Regions from separate parts of the Homo sapiens genome. Here all the other regions are linked to region 3. The links are contacts of gene promoters, found by promoter capture Hi-C in blood cells and fetal thymus (Javierre and others, 2016). All regions are on one chromosome and are shown on one strand. Each heading gives the region's core, a stretch centred on a gene start or on the middle of the fragment in contact. The rest is flanking DNA. Distances are from core to core; before and after follow the strand shown.

Region 1 (4,278 bases), core at 60-2,559, 180 kb after region 3:
TCTGAAGAAATGCTTTTGGGTCTGGTTACTGCTCTGGGGAAGGGGAGTGTCTGTTAATCACAAATTGGGTTTTTAATGACATTGGGCTGCTGTGCCTTTTACTGCACAACCAATGTCAATGTTTGGGTTTTTTTCATGGTGATGAAGACTTTATTCAGGACCATGGCGGCAGGTATAGGTACCTCTGCAATGAGTCTTGCAGTTGGGGAGAGAGACTGAGCTCAACTCTGAATAGAGCACAGCAAGTGGGGATTGATAGTCAAGGAGCAGGGTAGGGGTCAGTGGATAGAAAATGACTCACAATGTCAGTGTTTTTATCGTAATTGAGCCTCAGAGTGTGAAACCTTTCTCACGTGGAACTCAAAGTGCATTATAAATCTGTCATTGAACACTTTTAAAAATAAGGCTAACTGGCCGGGCGCGGTGGCTTATGCCTGTAATCCCAGCACTTTGGGAGGCTGAGGTGGGTGGATCACGAGGTCAGGAGATCGAGACCATCCTGGCTAACACGGTGAAACCCCGTCTCTACTAAAAAACAAAAAATTAGCCGGGCATGGTAGCAGGCGCCTGTAGTCCAGCTACTCGGGAGGCTGAGGCAGGAGAATGGCGTGAACCCGGGAGGCGGAGCTTGCGGTGAGCTGAGATCGCACCACTGCACTTCTCCACTTCGTCTCAAAAAACAAAGGCTAACTTTGGGAGGCCAAGGCGGGCAGATCACTTGAGGTGAGGAGTTTGAGACCAGCCCGGCCAACATGGTGAAACCCGGTTTCTACTAAAAATACAGGGCTGGCGTGGTGGCTCATGCCTATAATCCCAGCACTTTGGGAGGCCTAGGCAGGAGGATCATTTGAGCCCAGGAGTTCGAGGCTACAGTAAGCTATGATCGCCCCACTGCACTCCGGCCTGACCAACAGAGCAAGACCCTGTCTCTAAAAAAATAATAAATAAAAATACAAAAAAAATTAGCTGGGTGTCGTGGCTCACAGTTGTATCCCAGGTACTCGGGAGGCTGAGGCAGGAGAATCATTTGCACCCAGGAAACAGAGGTTGTGGTGAGCCAAGAGTGCACCACTGCACTCCAGCCTGGGTGACAGAGTGACACTCTGTCCCCAAAAAATAAAAAATAGATAAACATAAGGCTAATTTGGCTGGGCACGGTGGCTCACGCCCGTAATCCCAACACTTTGGGAGGCTGAGACGGGCGGATCACTTGAGGACAAGAGTTGAATACCAGCCTCAAGACCAGCCTGGGCAATATGGGAAACCCCGTCTCTACCAAAAATACAAAAAAAATAGCTGGGTGTGGTGGCATGTGCCTGTGGTCCTAGCTACTCAGGGGGCTGAAGTGGGAGGAATGCTTGAACCCAGGAGGCAGAGGTTGCAGTGAGCTGAGATCATGCCACTGCACTCCAGCCTGGTGACAGAGTGAGACTCCATTATAATAATAATAAGGCTAATTTATATCCTGCTGAGTCTCTCATAGCACCATTCTTTTCCTTTATAGCATTTAATCTCAAATCATAATTACATATTTATGTGATTATTTGATTATCTTATCTCTCCTCCTAGACTGTACACTCTTTGCAAGCAGAAACTATATCTGTTTGGCTTACTGAAGTATCCTGCACTTTGCTGAGGCCTGGCTCATAGTCTGTGCTTAATAAGTATTTATTAATCAATCTACATAAATTACAGGTGTCATTTTATACACAAGCACCTAAAACACCTAATCAGCCTAGCTAATGTCCCAATCTTTTTTTTTTTTTTCTTTTGAGATAGGCTCTGTTGCCCAGGCTGGAGTACAGTGGTGCAATCACAGCCCACTGCAGCCTTGACCTACTGGGCTCAAGAGATCCTCCCACCCCAGTCTCCTCTCCTGAGTAGCTGGGACTACAGGTTTGTGCCACCATGCCTAGCTAATTTTTGTATTTTTTGTGGAGAAGGAGTTTTGCCATGTTGCCCAGGCTGGTCTCAAACTCTTGGGCTCAAGTGATCCACTTGCCTCGGCCTCCCAAAGTCCTGGGATTACAGGTGTGAGCCACTGCTCTCAGCCCTACAGTTTGTTTTAAGTTAGGTTGAGGATCTGTCTCACTTCATAACTAGGGCCGTGACCCTCACCTCTGGCCCCAGTGCTTTATATTAGGATGAAATTACTGAAAAGAATTCACAGAAAAATCAAATTATCAAATGAGTCTTATTTGCATTTCAAATAAAGGGAATTCTACAGTATGGGTCTTGACACTGGCCTTTTGGAATGTGCCTGAGGGGACAGAGGTGTGCATCAAGTCTGTGGAGGTGCCTCTCAGGATGCAGTGCTCTGGAAGGTGTGGGGCTGGATCTGGGGCTAGTCTCATGGTGAGTGGCCCTTGAGGCACAGTGGAGGCTGACACTAAGTGAGGGCTTGCCACTCTTTCAGTGCCAAGTCTTATTGCCCAACCTGTATAGCTACAACTGCAAACTGATACATACCAATGCTCTATGAATAGCCATCATTAAATTTGCTTGCCAGAAATGATACGGGAGAACCCCTTTTGAACCCTCCCTTCCTCAGTATGAGTTGTTCATGAGTGGTGAGGACTTCCTAACATCTGGAGCTCAGCCACTCACCCAGTGTGACACACTGCCCAGGGAAAAGTGCCATCTTCAGATACGCTCAGCAAGTGCTGGGATTCACCAGCCTACTGGGCCTTAGCTTGAAGTTTCTTTCTCAGAAAACTTATTCTCTTGGCCCCAGCCTGTACCGATGATGTCCCCAAAAGTAAGCTTACAGGTTTTTTTGTTTTGTTTTAAAGGAAAGAGACTTCTAATTCACACATATCCATTTAGTTTGATTACAGAACTGAATTTGCAAGGTGTGAACAGGTTGTTCTATGTCCTTGGGCACAACTACTTAAGGTGATTAAAAATTAAGGTATAATTTACATACAATTAAAAACACAGATCTTAAATATTCAATTTGATGAGTTTTGACAGTTGTACCACCATGTAACCCAAGCACCAAACAAGATACAGAACATTTCCATCACTCTAGAATGTAGCCTTGTGCCTCTTTCTGTTCGATTCCCTCCGCCTCAGCCACCACCGCCACTGCCGCCTTCTGACTAGTGTTGCTATAAATAAGGCTGGCTTATTCCTGAATTTCAAAAAAGTGGAATTCTACAGTATGGGTCTTCTGTGTGTGGGCCTGCCATCTTTCACTCTACATAATGTTTTTAAGATTCATACAGGCTAGGCGAGGTGGTTCATTGTAATCCCAGCACTTTAGAAGACTGAGGCAGGGGGATCACTTGAGGCCAGCAGGTTGAGACCAGCCTGGGCAACACAGTGAGACTCACATCTCTACAAAAAAATTAATAAAATTTTTAAAAAGAAAAAAATTCATTAATAGTTAATTCCTTTTTACTGTTTTACTGTATTCCATTGTGTGACATCATAATTTATGATGTGAACATTTGTTTCTAGTGTGGGGCCATTATGAATAAGGCTGCTGTGAACATTTGTATAATTTTTTTTGTGGACTTATGTTTTTATTTTCTTAGATAAATATCTATAAGTGGAGTTGCTGTGATTGGGTTGATATATGTTTAACTATAAGAAACTGTCAATTTTCCAAAGTGGTTGTACTGTTTTACATTCCCACCAAGAATGTATGGGAGTTCCATTTGCCGCATATCCTCTCCAAACTTCAGGATTGTAAGTCTTTTTTTTTTTTTTTTGAAATGGAGTTTCACTCTGTGGCCCAGGCTGGAGTGCAATGGCGCGATCTTCACTCCCTGCAACCTCCGCCTCCTGGGTTCAAGCAATTCTCCTGCCTTAGCCTCCTGAGTAGCTGGGATTACAGGCATGCACCACCACACCAGGCTATTTTTGTATTTTCAGTAGACATGGGGTTTCACCATGTTGGCCAGGATGGTCTTGAACTCCTGACCTCAGGTGATCCACCCATCTTGGCTTCCCACAGTGCTGGGATTACAGGCGTGAGCCACTGCGCCCGGACATTTTTTTTTTTTTTTTTGAGATGGAGTCTCGCTCTGTTGCCCAGGCTGGAGTGCAGTGGTGCGATCTCGGCTCACTGCAAGCTCCACCTCCTGGGTTTACACCATTCTCCTTCCTCAGCCTCCCGAGTAGCTGGGACTACAGGTGCCCACCACCATACCTGGCTAATTTTTTTGCATTTTTGGTAGAGATGGGGTTTCACCATGTGTTAGCCAAGATGGTCTCAATCTCCTGACCTCATCATCTGCTGATTTGTTGGAGTTCTGCAGACAAGTCCTTTGT
Region 2 (3,926 bases), core at 762-3,261, 180 kb before region 3:
AACAGGAGACAAGTCCCCCCTGCCCTGAGTTGTGGGAGGCGGTAAATCAGGGAAAAAGTAGAGTTCAGTTATCCTTGGGACAGCCTTTCAGGGACTATCTCCCCTGAAAGCACCTTCTATGGGATGCTGAAAATTTAGAACGAGTTTCCAAACCAACAAGACCTGTGGTCCCTACGTTTGACATTAAGCACATACAGCAGCCAGTGTGCTGGCCCAGTGGGACCCCAAGGGTGCTGGCCCTAGCCCAAGCTGAGGCCAAGCTGGAGACCTACCGGTCAAACTTGACAGCCATCTTAATGACACCAGAGGTATCTTCAGCTGGCTCCCCTGTCTGCTCTGAAGTCTTGGCTGAGAGCCTGGCCTGCTGGGCATCCAGCTCCTGTGTGGTCTCCTCATAGAAGGCACCAAGGCCAAAGGCCTCACTAGGGAGGAAGAAGCAGATCAGAGCAAACACTTTAGCGGAGCCAGCATCCAGGGTACTGCAGGACCCCAGGGCCCCACCACTGAGAAACTCCTCTACCACATACACCAAAACACCACCGGGGCCTGGCCATCAGAATGTGCCCCCTGCCCAGCCCTGGGATTACTGTGGACTGGAAGATGGAAAGTGAATGTGAACCCAAGCGTGGACACTGGAGGGAGGCTGGGCTGGGTGGCAAAGGTTGTAAAGGTCACCCCCACCACCTGCAGCCTCTCTCCTGAGGGGAAGCACACAGATGGTATCCCCAGCCAGCCGTGACTGAGTTAACCAATGCTGATCAAGCACATGGGCCCATGGGAGGAAGAGACAGAGGCCTGACCACTAAGTGGTTCCCCACTTCCCGCCCAGCCACAGGCAGTTATACATGGGTCTCAGCTGACACTGAGGCACCACCCAGAGCTACAGAGTTATGTGGGGTAGGGACTGAACCAATGCCATAAGCCAAGGGTGGGAAGAGGGCTCTGGCAAAGGTTTTTCCCTTCTAGGAAACATCTTGAAGGCTGGAAGACTCAAACGAAGATAGATCCCCAATGGCAAAAGTGGTTCAGAAAGGCATCTATGTAAGAGGGAGGCTACAGATAGCTCACGTGAGAGGGAGAGAGCCTTCCAGGCAGACGACCCATTACAAGCACAGGTGTGGAGTTCTGGAAGCAGACAGGTAGACAGGGAGCTGTGGGGGCAGTGGCTAGGCCAGCTTGTGAAGGGCCTCAACTGTCAACCATCTGAGCTAGAGCTGCACCTGATCTAGAGAATCAACAGGTGGTCTCTCAAACTGCAGGGTGATGGATGTGAGTGCAGGCTCAAGGTAGAGGCTCCATGCTACAGCCCAATTCTCCTGACCACTGGTTCCTGGGGGCCTGGCCTGTGACTATCCCATTTATGGAAAATCCCCTTCCTTTGCATTCCTCTATCCTTCTAGTACCCTAGTTCCCAGAGCTCTGCTGATCCGTCCAGGGATGGGACGTTTCAAAGCTTTCAAAGAATCCCCTCCTGGGAGGCAAAGCTGTACCATCACTCCACTCCTCTACATCTACATCCAGAAGCTGTGTCCCTGGTCCCCTGGTGGAGTCAGCTTAGGGCTCAAAGTCAAACTTGGGCAATGCGTACAAGGACAGATGGACATCTTATTGTGCCTCTTACCAAATTTCCCGGGAAGACTGGGCAGCATGGAGCAACCTTCCCTGGGGCGACTCCAGCTGTTCTCGTAGCATCTGGCACAAGCAGTACTTGGTGTTGGTGTAGTGGTTGTCATACTGCACCGCCTGAGAAAAGAAATGACTTGCCTGATGCCCAGGCAGGCTCTAAGGCCTGGGCTATGCTCTGATGGCAGGGAAAGGAGCTCCAAGAAGGCACCAGAGATGTATGTGTAGCCAAGGCAATGTGACCCCCATAAGAAGAACCACCACTGGCCAGGAGCAGTGGCTCACATCTGTAATCCCAGCACTCTGAGAGGCCAATGCAGGAGGACTGCTTGAGGCTAGGAGTTCAAGAGCAGCCTGGGCAACGTAAGACTCAACTCTACAAAAATTAAAAAAAAGAAAATTATCGGCTGGGCACGGTGGCTCACGCCTGTAATCACAGCACCTTGGGAGGCCAAGGCGGGCGGATCACCTGAGGTCAGGAGTTCAAGACCAGCCTGACCAACATGGTGAAGCCCCGTCTCTACTAAAAATACAAAATTAGCTGGGCGTGGTGGCGGGTGCCTGTAATCCCAGCTACTCGGGAGGCTGAGGCAAGAGAATCGCTTGAACCCTGGAGGCGAAGGTTGCGGTGAGCCAAGATCGTGCCACTGCACTCCAGCCTGGGCGACAACAGCAAAACTCTGTCTCAAAAAAAAAAAAAAAAAGAAAAAGAAAATTAGCCAGGCATGTTGGCACACACCTGTAGCCATAGCTACTAGGGAGGCTAAGGCAAGAGGATTGCTTGCACCCAGGAGTTGTGGCTGTAGTGAGCTATGATCATGCCACTGCACTCCAGCCTGGGCAACAGACTGAGACCCTATCTAAAATTAAAAATAAAAATAAAAATAAATTAAAAAGCCACTTCGACCTTGGTCATCTACTCTTCCAGCTAGTGGTACAAAGCTTGAGGGTCACAGCCAAGGACCACGGTCAGAAACACATTCTCCTGGACAGCCTGACTGAGGTCTCGAAGTGCGGGAGCCCCTTCCTGCTTCAGCCACCACAGAGGACCTACTGCCAAGTATCTTCCAGGGAAGGGAGGGGAAACACACCAAATTCTGGCATGGCAGGTCCAGTGCCAGGAAAGGGGTGAGATTCTTCTATTCCTTCTAACCAGAATGGGCACCTTCCCTTCCCACATCTTGAATAGCCTCTAACTTCCCCCTACGTGGGTAAAACACAGCATCATTTAGTTCACATGGGTTACTCATGACTACATTTATCTATACAAGTGTGAGGTGCAACTGTCACCATCACTCCACAGACCGTGAAATGAAGGCTCAGGGAGGCAAGATGACTGACTGCCTGGGACACCCAGTGGAAGTCGGCTGGCTAGAGGTAGGGCAGGAGAGCAGTATTGGGTGAAGGTGGCCTTCCCCAGCCCTCCAGGACACCCTCCCATCCCCCACCCCCTATGCTGCTCTAGTAACTCCACGTGGGCCTATGACTTCAGTGGCTGGGAAAGTGCCACGGCACGCTCAGGACAAAGTGGGAAGTAAGTCGGGGCGCCCCGGCTGGTGGCAAGTCCTTGACTCAGCTTGTCTGGGAAGAAGGCACCTGGCTGGACCAGAAGCAGCCCTGCCTATGCTTGAAAGCCGCTCCCTTTCTCTGTGATAGCACACCCTCTTGAGGAGCTGCCAAGAGATGGCTCAGCAGGAATGATAATATCACCTTTCACCCAGTGAGCAAGCTCAGCACTGTTCAGCACGTCTTCTTGGCCAGACTTGCCAGCTGGCCAAAAAGCTGGATAGCTGACCTGGGCTGGGGCAAGCCCTCCCTTGCCATGGAGCTATCCCAGACCATTGGAGAGCTGGTGGTCACCAACTTGCCCAGCAGGACACCAGAACCAGGGAGTGAGGGCTGCAGCATTGAACAGGAAATAGGACAAAGGCTGCCCAGCTCTGGACGCAGACCTCAGGGCATCTTACCATCCTAGCTTGCACAGCCATGGAAACACTCACATACCATGGCAGCCACAGGCACTCCTAGGCAGGTATGAACCCTAGGACTGAAGAGGAGGGTGGAACTCTGCTCTGGGCAAAGACTGCACCCTCTGTTCAGACCCAATTCACTGAAGAATTTGAGGACCACTCACTGTCTCTCCCTGCAGACATGTGCAGCTGATCAGAGTCCCACAGAGTTCCAGGGTTGTGCCAAAGAGATAAGGCAAGTGAACTCTTCATTTTCTTTTATAGGGATATGCCCTTGGCACTACCATCAACCTCTCAATGAGAAGAAACTGGTTTAGAAAAGGCCATTCCCAG
Region 3 (3,832 bases), core at 1,043-3,542:
TCCCAGCTACTCGGGAGGCTGAGGCAGGAGAATCGCTTGAACCTGGGAGGCGGAGGTTGCAGTGAGCCGAGATCGCACCACTGCACTCCAGCCTGGGTGTCAGAGCAAGACTCCATCTCAGAAAAAAAAAAAAAATACAGATTCCTACCCCAGATCTTCTTCATCAAAATCTCAAAGAGTGGGTCAGGTGTGGTGGCTCTTGCCTGTAACCCTAAAACTTCGGGAGGCCAAGGTGGGAGGACTGCTTGAGCCCAGGAGTTCGACACCAGCCTCGGCAACATGGCGAGACCTCGTCTCTGTTTAAACAAAAAAAAAAAAATCTCAGCCAGGCATAGTGGCTTATGCCTGCAACCCTAGCACTTTGGGAGGCCGAGGCAGGTGGATCACCTGAGGTCAGGAGTTCGAGACCAGCCTGGCCAACACGGTGAAACACCATCTCTACTAAAAATACAAAATTAGCTGGGCATAGTGGTGCTTGCCTGTAACCCCAGCTACTCTGGGGGCTGAGGCAGGAGAATCACTTGAACCTGGGGGGTAGAGGTTGCAGTGAGCCAAGATCGCGCCATTGCTCCAGCCTGGGCAAAAAGAGCAAAACTCCGTCTCAAAAAAAAAAAAAAAAAAAAACTAACTCAGACAGTAAGGCTCTTGATTTTGTATCACAAAATTATCCCAGGAGATTTTGGACTATCCAGGATTAAGAGGCTGTACTACCTACCACACACATACGCTGGCATTTGCTGTGCTCATCTTAGATCCTAGCCCTGATAGGTGCTCAAAAATACAGTTGAATCTATCCATTCATAAGTCAGCATTCAGCAAATGCTACTGGAGGCTAGCCCCTATTTTATGCCAGGCACAGAGCCAGACATATGCAGACAGAAGACCACCATGTGACACAACAGGATGTACTCAATAGTAGCAGCATGGATATAGAGGAGTTAATGGTTACATGCCAAGCAAGGTAGATTTTTTTCCTAGGAAGTGACATCTCAGGTGGATTTTATAGGACAGATGTAAGTTTCCAACACTGGTAGGTGGTCGGTGGGGTGGAAGGCAGTGTATAGCAAACTGAGAAAACTGCGTTATCTAAAGCACAAGGGGACCAAGCACAGTGGCTCACGCTTGTATTAATAATCTCAATATGTTAGGAGCCTAGGCAGGAGGGTCTCTTGAAGCCAGCTCTGGCAACAAAGCCAGACTCCCTGGCTCTACAAAAAATTTTAAACTTAGCCAGGCGTGGAGGGGAGTGCCTCTTGTCTCAGCTACTCGGGAGGTTGAGGCGGGAGGATCATTTGAGTCCAGGAGTTCAAGGCTGCAGTGAGCTATGAATGAGCCATTGCACTCCAGCTTGGGCAATAGAGGCCTTGTCTCAAAATTAGTAATACTAAAACACAAAGGTATGAAACCAGAGCTAACAGGAGCGCCACACGTTTTAACAACAATAAACTACGTAAAGGGAGCACAGAAGTGCTCCGGTGTTGATTGGCTGGTTAAACCTTCACCAGATTACGAAGAGCCCTGAATGCCTTGCTAAGAAGTGCGGCCTTTGTCCTGAAGGCACTAAGGAACTAGTTTCAGGCAGTGAAGGACTTACTCAGATTTTCAGGTGGGAATTATCACTTCAGCCGCTTTATGGAGGGGGACTAAGTGTGGGGGACTAGGCTTCCCCTTGCAGGTAGAGGAATGACAAGCTTGCCAAGCAAGCAACCCAGCTGGACTCAGACCTGCTATTTCCCAGCCTGCACAAGGAAGCGATCAGCTGCCCCGCCGGCCCCTGGCAGACGCAAAGGAGGGGTGTGGAGTAGGCGCCGGGCGCGAGAAGGCAGTAAGGACAAGGACAACCAGGTTGGATCAACCTGACCCGCTCTGGACGCGGGGCGGCTGAACAGCAAGCAGGCAGGGCAACCGACCACGTCCACCAGGCCCAAGCGGGCCTGGAGACGGGCTATCCAGCACGACAGCACGTTCCGAGGCCAGTCCAGACTCGGACGCCGGGAACCCGAGCAGCCATCGCCCGGCCTGCTCTCCAACCCTGTAGGCCCTGGCGCACGGGGCACGGGCCGACGCTGCAGGCTGACCAGGGGCAGGCCCCGGAGCGCCAGAAAGCGACCACGACCACAGTTCGGCTGCCCCTCCCGCCCGTCGGGCCGTCGTCCTGGGCCGGGCCGCCTCACCTCGCGCGGGCGGCGGGCTCTTCGGCGTCTCGGCGGCTCTGCCGGCCATCTCCGGGCAATGGCAGCGGCCGCCGCCGCCGCCGCCGCCGCCGCCATTCTCGGGCGTTAGCGTCGTGGCGTCATCACAGCGCGCAGCTGACGCCAAAACAAGCCTACGGGGCGGGTCGGGGGCGGGTCGGGGGCGGACTCTCCCGAAACTGGGCTACGCGGCTGGCGGATCTCCGAGCGTGGCCTGCCAATCAACCTCTTCGGGGCGGGGACGGGCACTCTCCTGAAGGGGTGGGTCTATTTGTCGCTCAAAGTAACTTGACCGCTGCCTGCGAGACGGGTCGGTGATAGAAAAAGGAAGGATCGCGGGAAATAGGGAGAAAGTTTCAAGTTTCTGGTTGGGGGAAAGGGGACTCTGTAATGCGAGCTTGGGTAAACAATGCTTTCCAACAGAGGTTTCTGGAAGTGCCTCTGGAACTCCGCAAAGGATAGACTTAATTTTCATTAACAAAATCTATTTTTTAAAACTGCACTTAGAATAATTTCAACACTCCATGTGTTGAATTTGGCCTCCATCAAAGAAGAGATGCAAAGGGTTAATTTGTAGATAGGTGAAGTCAATCTTGGGCCAACTTCTGGACTCATGGTTATTTGTTGTTGTTAATTTAATTTATATGCCGAGTCTGAAAAGCAAGCGGATTTTTAAAAAATTGTTACCATTCACAATGACTTCTCTATAGGATCAGAACTGGTTCACTTTACAGTCAACCCAACTTGGAGGGGTTAAAATAGGTGCTGCAGATGGTAAGTGCATTGTAACCTCCATCCATCTTCCCCATTTCAGTAGCTCTGTATTCAAATCTTTATTGAGTATGTACTTTGCACATGGAACTGTCTTTGATTGACTGTATAAGCTAATGTTATACTTTAAACCTAAAAATAAATTAACACCAATAAAACATTGTCGTCGGCTGGGCGCCACTGCTCACACTTGTAATCCCAGCACTTTGGGAGGCCAAGGCAGGTGGATCACCTGAAGTCAGGAGTTTGAGACCAGTCTGACCAACAAGGTGAAACCCTGTCTCTACTAAAAATACAAAAATTAGCCAGGCTTGGTGGCAGGCTCCTGTAGTCCCAGCTACTCGGGAGGCTGAGACAGGAGAATAGCTACAACCTGGGAGACAGAGGTTGCAATGAGCTGAGATTGCACCACTGCACTCCAGCCTTGGCGATGGAGTGAGACTCCGTCTCAAAAAAAAAAAAAAAATTGTTGTCTATTTTATGTAGTAAGGTTTCTTTCTTTTCTTTTTTCCTGAGATGGAGTTTCGCTCTTGTTGTCAGGCTGGAGTGCAATGGCACAATCTCGGCTCACTGCAACCTCTGCCTCCCAAGTTCAAGCAATTCTCCTGCCTCAGCCTCCCCGAGTAGCTGGGATTACAGGCGCCTGCCACCATGCCCGGTTAATTTTCTTTATTTTTATTTTTATTTTTATTTTTATTTTTATTTTTATTTTTTTTGAGAAAGAGTCTCGCTTTGTCACCCAGGCTAGAGTGCAGTGGCGCAGTCTCGGCTCACTGCAAGCTCCGCCTCCTGGGTTCACGCCATTCTCCTGCCTCAGCCTCCCGAGTAGCTGGGACTATTGGCGCCCACCACTGTGCCCAGCTAATTTT
Region 4 (4,191 bases), core at 1,057-3,556, 200 kb before region 3:
AGATAAAACCCTCTTCTGCCTTGGCTTTCCCTACACCATTCTCTTGATTGTCTAATTTAACTCTGTGACAGTATCTTCTCAGACTTCTCTCCTTGCCATCCTTGCAATACTGTTGTTTCCAGAGTCCTGTTCTCAGCCTCCTTTTCACATTATAATCCACACTCTGTTGCAGTGACTTCATCCATGCCCATGACTTCAACTATCATCAATATCTATAGACCAATAACTTTCAAATCTCTTTTGTGCAAGTTTCTCTTTTGAGCTCTACACTTATATTTCCAATTGCCTAATAAATCTACAGATGCTTCAAACTAGACATACACAAAACTGAACTCCTTTTTACTATATACTCTCATTGCACTTTATACTTTGCACTTTGTATTTTCATGACACTAGTTACATTAATAATTACTAGACTGTGCACTTCATGAAGGCAAGGGCCATGTCTTGTTCACCACTATTTCCACAGACATTTTGTAATAGCACATTTTATTAAAATGAATCACCTTTCTCCCTCCCCACCTCCAAAGCTAATTCTCCTACCACAACTGACCCAAACTAGAAAAATAGAAATAATCCTGCCTCCTTCCCTTTCCTTACTCAATGGATACCAGGTCCTATTGATTTCTTTCCTGTAAATCTATCTGAGCACTATTCCCACTTTGTCGTCTTCACTGCTCTACCCTTATCATTTCTCAAATACATGTGTCCCCACCTCCATTCCTGTCTTCTTCAATCTATTACCCACAGTATAGTAGAGTGATGGAGCTACAAATCTGACATTTCTGCCCAATTTGAAATCCTTCAATGGCTCCCTGCTGTCTTCAAACTAAAATCCAAACTCCTCAATACAGTATAATAGTCTGTCCCTCTCCAGCCACATCTGGACACAACAGAATCCTGATCTTCCACTTTCCAAATTAAAGGACCATGCTCTTTAACCTGTCTTTGGGTGTGATAATCGGCTGGCCTGAAATGTTATGTCCTCCCTTAGCCACCTGGTGAACTCATCCCACTGGATTCTGCTCAACTGTACTCTTCTCTGACCTCTCTACTCAGAGTTAATCTGTGTCATTATATGCTCAGAGGCCCTTCTCCGTACCTCTGTTATATTAATATTGTTGTAGTCATTTATATGTCTACTCCAATAGACTGAATTATATTTAATTTGTATTACCAGTATTTGGCACATAATAATACTGACACTTAACAAAACTTAATTAAAAGATTAAATGATTTAGTATATTTACCCACTTAATGGAAGAGGACTTTCTTGAGGTCCCTTCCAGCTCAGTTACTCTAAGATCTCATACAATGTTCCCCTCTGGTTACTACTTTCTCTTCTTCTACATATTCTTCTATTTTATCCTTTAACAACAGCTAGTTTCTTTCAGATGAGCCTTCGAAAGAATGAAACAAAGCACTTTAAAAAGAATTTTTAGCGTGGGCATGGTGGCTCACACCTGTAATCCCAGTACATTGGGAGGCCAAGGTGGGAGGACTGCTCAGGCCCAGGAGTTTGAGACTGGCCTGGGCAACACAGAAAGACTCCGTCTCTATCAAAAACAATTTTTAAAAATTAGCTGGGCATGGTGGCAAGCACCTGTGGTTTGAGCTACTTGGGAGGCTGAGTTAAGACTGCAGTGATCTATGATTGAGCCACTGAACTCCAGCCTGGGCAACAAAGTGAGACCCTGTCTCAAAATAAATTTTAAGAAATAAAATAAAATAAGCATTTAAAAAACACTTTACTATCTCAATTTTGACAAATCAGATTTGACACTGTCTTTATGCTTCTGTATGTCTGCATAATCATCAGGTTCCACCTGAACCACACAACAAAAATGAATTTTGTGTCCCAGATCTCCCACCCATCAAGACACCAACCCCACTGTTATTAATCCAGGATCAATAGCCATACTTCTCTTTCTTGGCACCTCTATCAACTCCCATGCCCATCCCCAAGGACTCTGACAAAGCAAAAGAAAAAGCAAGTGCCAGAGAAAGTAACTGCATAACAAAAGTCAGGTTTACATTATAAAGTCCCTCAACTGGCTGGGCACAGGGGCTCATGCCTATAATCCCAGCACTTTGGGAGGCCGAGGCAGGCGGATCACCTGAGGTAGGGAGTTCAAGACCAGCGTGTCCAACATGGTGAAACCCTGTCTCTACTAAGAATACAAAAATTAGCCAGGCACGGTGACACACATCTGTAATCCCAGCTACTTGGGAGGCATGAGGCAGGAAAATCACTTGAACCTGGGAGGTGGAAGTTGCAGTGAGCAGAGATTGTGCCACTGTGCTCCAGCCTAGGTGACAGAGTGAGACTCTGTCTCAAAAAAAAAAAAAAAAAAAAAAATTAGCTGGGCATGTGGTGCACACCTGTAATCCCAGCTACTTCAGCTACTTGAGAGGCTGAGGCATCACAATCACCTGAACCCAGGAGGCAGAGGTTGCACTCCAGCCTGGGAAATAGAGTGAGATTCTCTCTCAAAAAAAAAAAATTTTTTTTAAGTCCCTCAGTTGCTAGAATACTGTGGATAGTAAGCACAGACAATTCTTTTGGTTGACCCCCTCCCAGCATCCATTTTCTCTTTCTTCCTCCCTAACAGATTTTCTATCCTTCTATCCACTCCTCTCCCATGCAGCCTTGTGTTTTGGGGAAGCCAACCATATCCTCAGGCCAAGGCATAGGTCTGGTTGGCTAAGAATAATTCCACTCATCTTTACCAGTAACTAATTTAGGAAAGGGAATGTAACCCAGTTTTGGTCAATGAAACGCAAGGTTAAGTTTGCTGAAGGCTTCTGGAAAAGTCCTTCGTCACTCTTAAAAAGAAAAGAGCTGTGTGAAGCCAGCATCCGTGTCTCATTCCTTCCCCTCAGCAAATATCAATCCAAATGTAACTATTTTGCATATATTTAAACTAGAAGATTAAGAGTATTTTACTATTTATTTCAAATAGTAATCGGATGATTAAAAAGTCAACAGAAGTGCTAAAACCATGATCAGCCAACATTTACTAGGTAACATGTATGACAAAAGAGCTTTCTTGCCTTTGCTCTCAAAGGGAGAGTTCTGGTGAAACTCAGAGACAACTGGGTATGTACAAGAGAGAGAGAAAATCCAAAAGAGTACTGATCTTGAGAGAGAAGAATAAATGGCAGATGGCAAATTGGTCAAAATATCAAGGAAAAAAATGTGTATCAGTCCTAGTGGCTATAGAAGGTAGTTCTCCTTGCATCCTAAATTCAATCAAATAAATAGTACTCATTTTTTTTTTTTTGAACATGTGAAAGCAAAATGTTAACCTTGAAAAATGAAACTACCCTGACTATTGAGCATTTTTAAAATTCTGAATTTTTCCTCATTCAGGTTTAGGGCAATTTTGACGACAGATCTAAACGCTTTAAACTTTAAAAGCAAAACAGCCTGCAAGATGACAAATCAGACCCTAATCAAGACAACATGGGCGGAGAGGGGGGCTGCCAAAGACAAAGGCCAATTTCTCCTTAGAGTAAACTGCCTTAAAACCTAAAATGATATCACCTCTTGACCTCCAGATCCACAAAGCAGCAAAGAGAAAAGGCCCAAAAGAGCTAAATTTGGGTCTAGCACAGTTAGCGATATAGCGATACAGTACCCTCTATTGGTCTAACTGTATCACTGCTACCCTTTAAAATTTCCTAGAGCAGGCAGGAATAAGAAGCATCCCTCAAGTAGCTATTTTGAGCCCAAAGCAGAAAATCTAGTCACAGGAACACATGTAATTTGTAAGACATGACTCATATATGTTTGATTCCATATGCCCAACATGACCCTTGCTTTCACCATAGGAAAAACTGAGTCTTTCTGTACTTAAACTCTTTCTGAGAATAGCAAGGCAAGAGGCAGGCATAGCAGAAAGGGCCCAAAATTTGAGGTCAGAAAACCAAAGTTCAAATACCAGCTAATTCCACTTTCTAGATGGTCAAATCCATCTGCATTTCTGTTTCCTTATGCGCTAAATAGAAATAATACCTCTCTCTAGGTTATCATGAGATAATGCACATAAAAATACCTTGCACATAATAGGTACTCAATAACACTGGATTAAATATTTATCTAATGTATCACAAACAAAAAGTTACAAAATGATCAAAATTATAGGTTGCGCAAAAAGAACTGTAGGATTTTTGTTGTTGTTGTTCTTG

The links. Contacts are between HindIII fragments. The CHiCAGO score rates a contact against its expected background, and 5 or more counts as called.
Region 1: a contact is called between a fragment that was not itself captured here and the fragment with the promoter of PSKH1 in region 3, in 1 of 17 cell types (erythroblasts). The highest score is 6.4, in erythroblasts.
Region 2: a contact is called between a fragment that was not itself captured here and the fragment with the promoter of PSKH1 in region 3, in 6 of 17 cell types (total B cells, naive B cells, neutrophils and 3 more). The highest score is 7.7, in total B cells.
Region 4: a contact is called between a fragment that was not itself captured here and the fragment with the promoter of PSKH1 in region 3, in 1 of 17 cell types (neutrophils). The highest score is 5.4, in neutrophils.

Annotation. Positions count from the first base shown.
Region 1 is chr16:67,706,796-67,711,073 of GRCh38, reverse strand. All of the region lies in intron 1 of GFOD2 (Gfo/Idh/MocA-like oxidoreductase domain containing 2), which reads left to right. Among named protein-coding and RNA genes, the nearest start is that of GFOD2, 10 kb to the left of the region's middle. RefSeq lists enhancers at 188-965, 966-1,744. The HindIII fragment of the contact is 2,912 bases long and covers 1-2,765 here.
Region 2 is chr16:68,071,851-68,075,776 of GRCh38, reverse strand. DUS2 (dihydrouridine synthase 2) reads right to left here. Exons shown (of 17, transcript NM_017803.5): 13 at 1,622-1,743; 14 at 273-422. Among named protein-coding and RNA genes, the nearest start is that of NFATC3, 12 kb to the left of the region's middle. RefSeq lists an enhancer at 346-455. The HindIII fragment of the contact is 1,112 bases long and covers 1,456-2,567 here.
Region 3 is chr16:67,891,714-67,895,545 of GRCh38, reverse strand. PSKH1 (protein serine kinase H1) reads right to left here and starts at 2,292. Exons shown (of 3, transcript NM_006742.3): 1 at 2,175-2,292. RefSeq lists silencers at 2,046-2,165, 2,496-2,555. The HindIII fragment of the contact is 6,871 bases long and covers 1,694-3,832 here.
Region 4 is chr16:68,093,516-68,097,706 of GRCh38, reverse strand. The region is part of intron 1 of NFATC3 (nuclear factor of activated T cells 3); the gene reads right to left. Among named protein-coding and RNA genes, the nearest start is that of NFATC3, 10 kb to the right of the region's middle. RefSeq lists a silencer at 3,627-3,921. The HindIII fragment of the contact is 6,898 bases long and covers 1-4,191 here.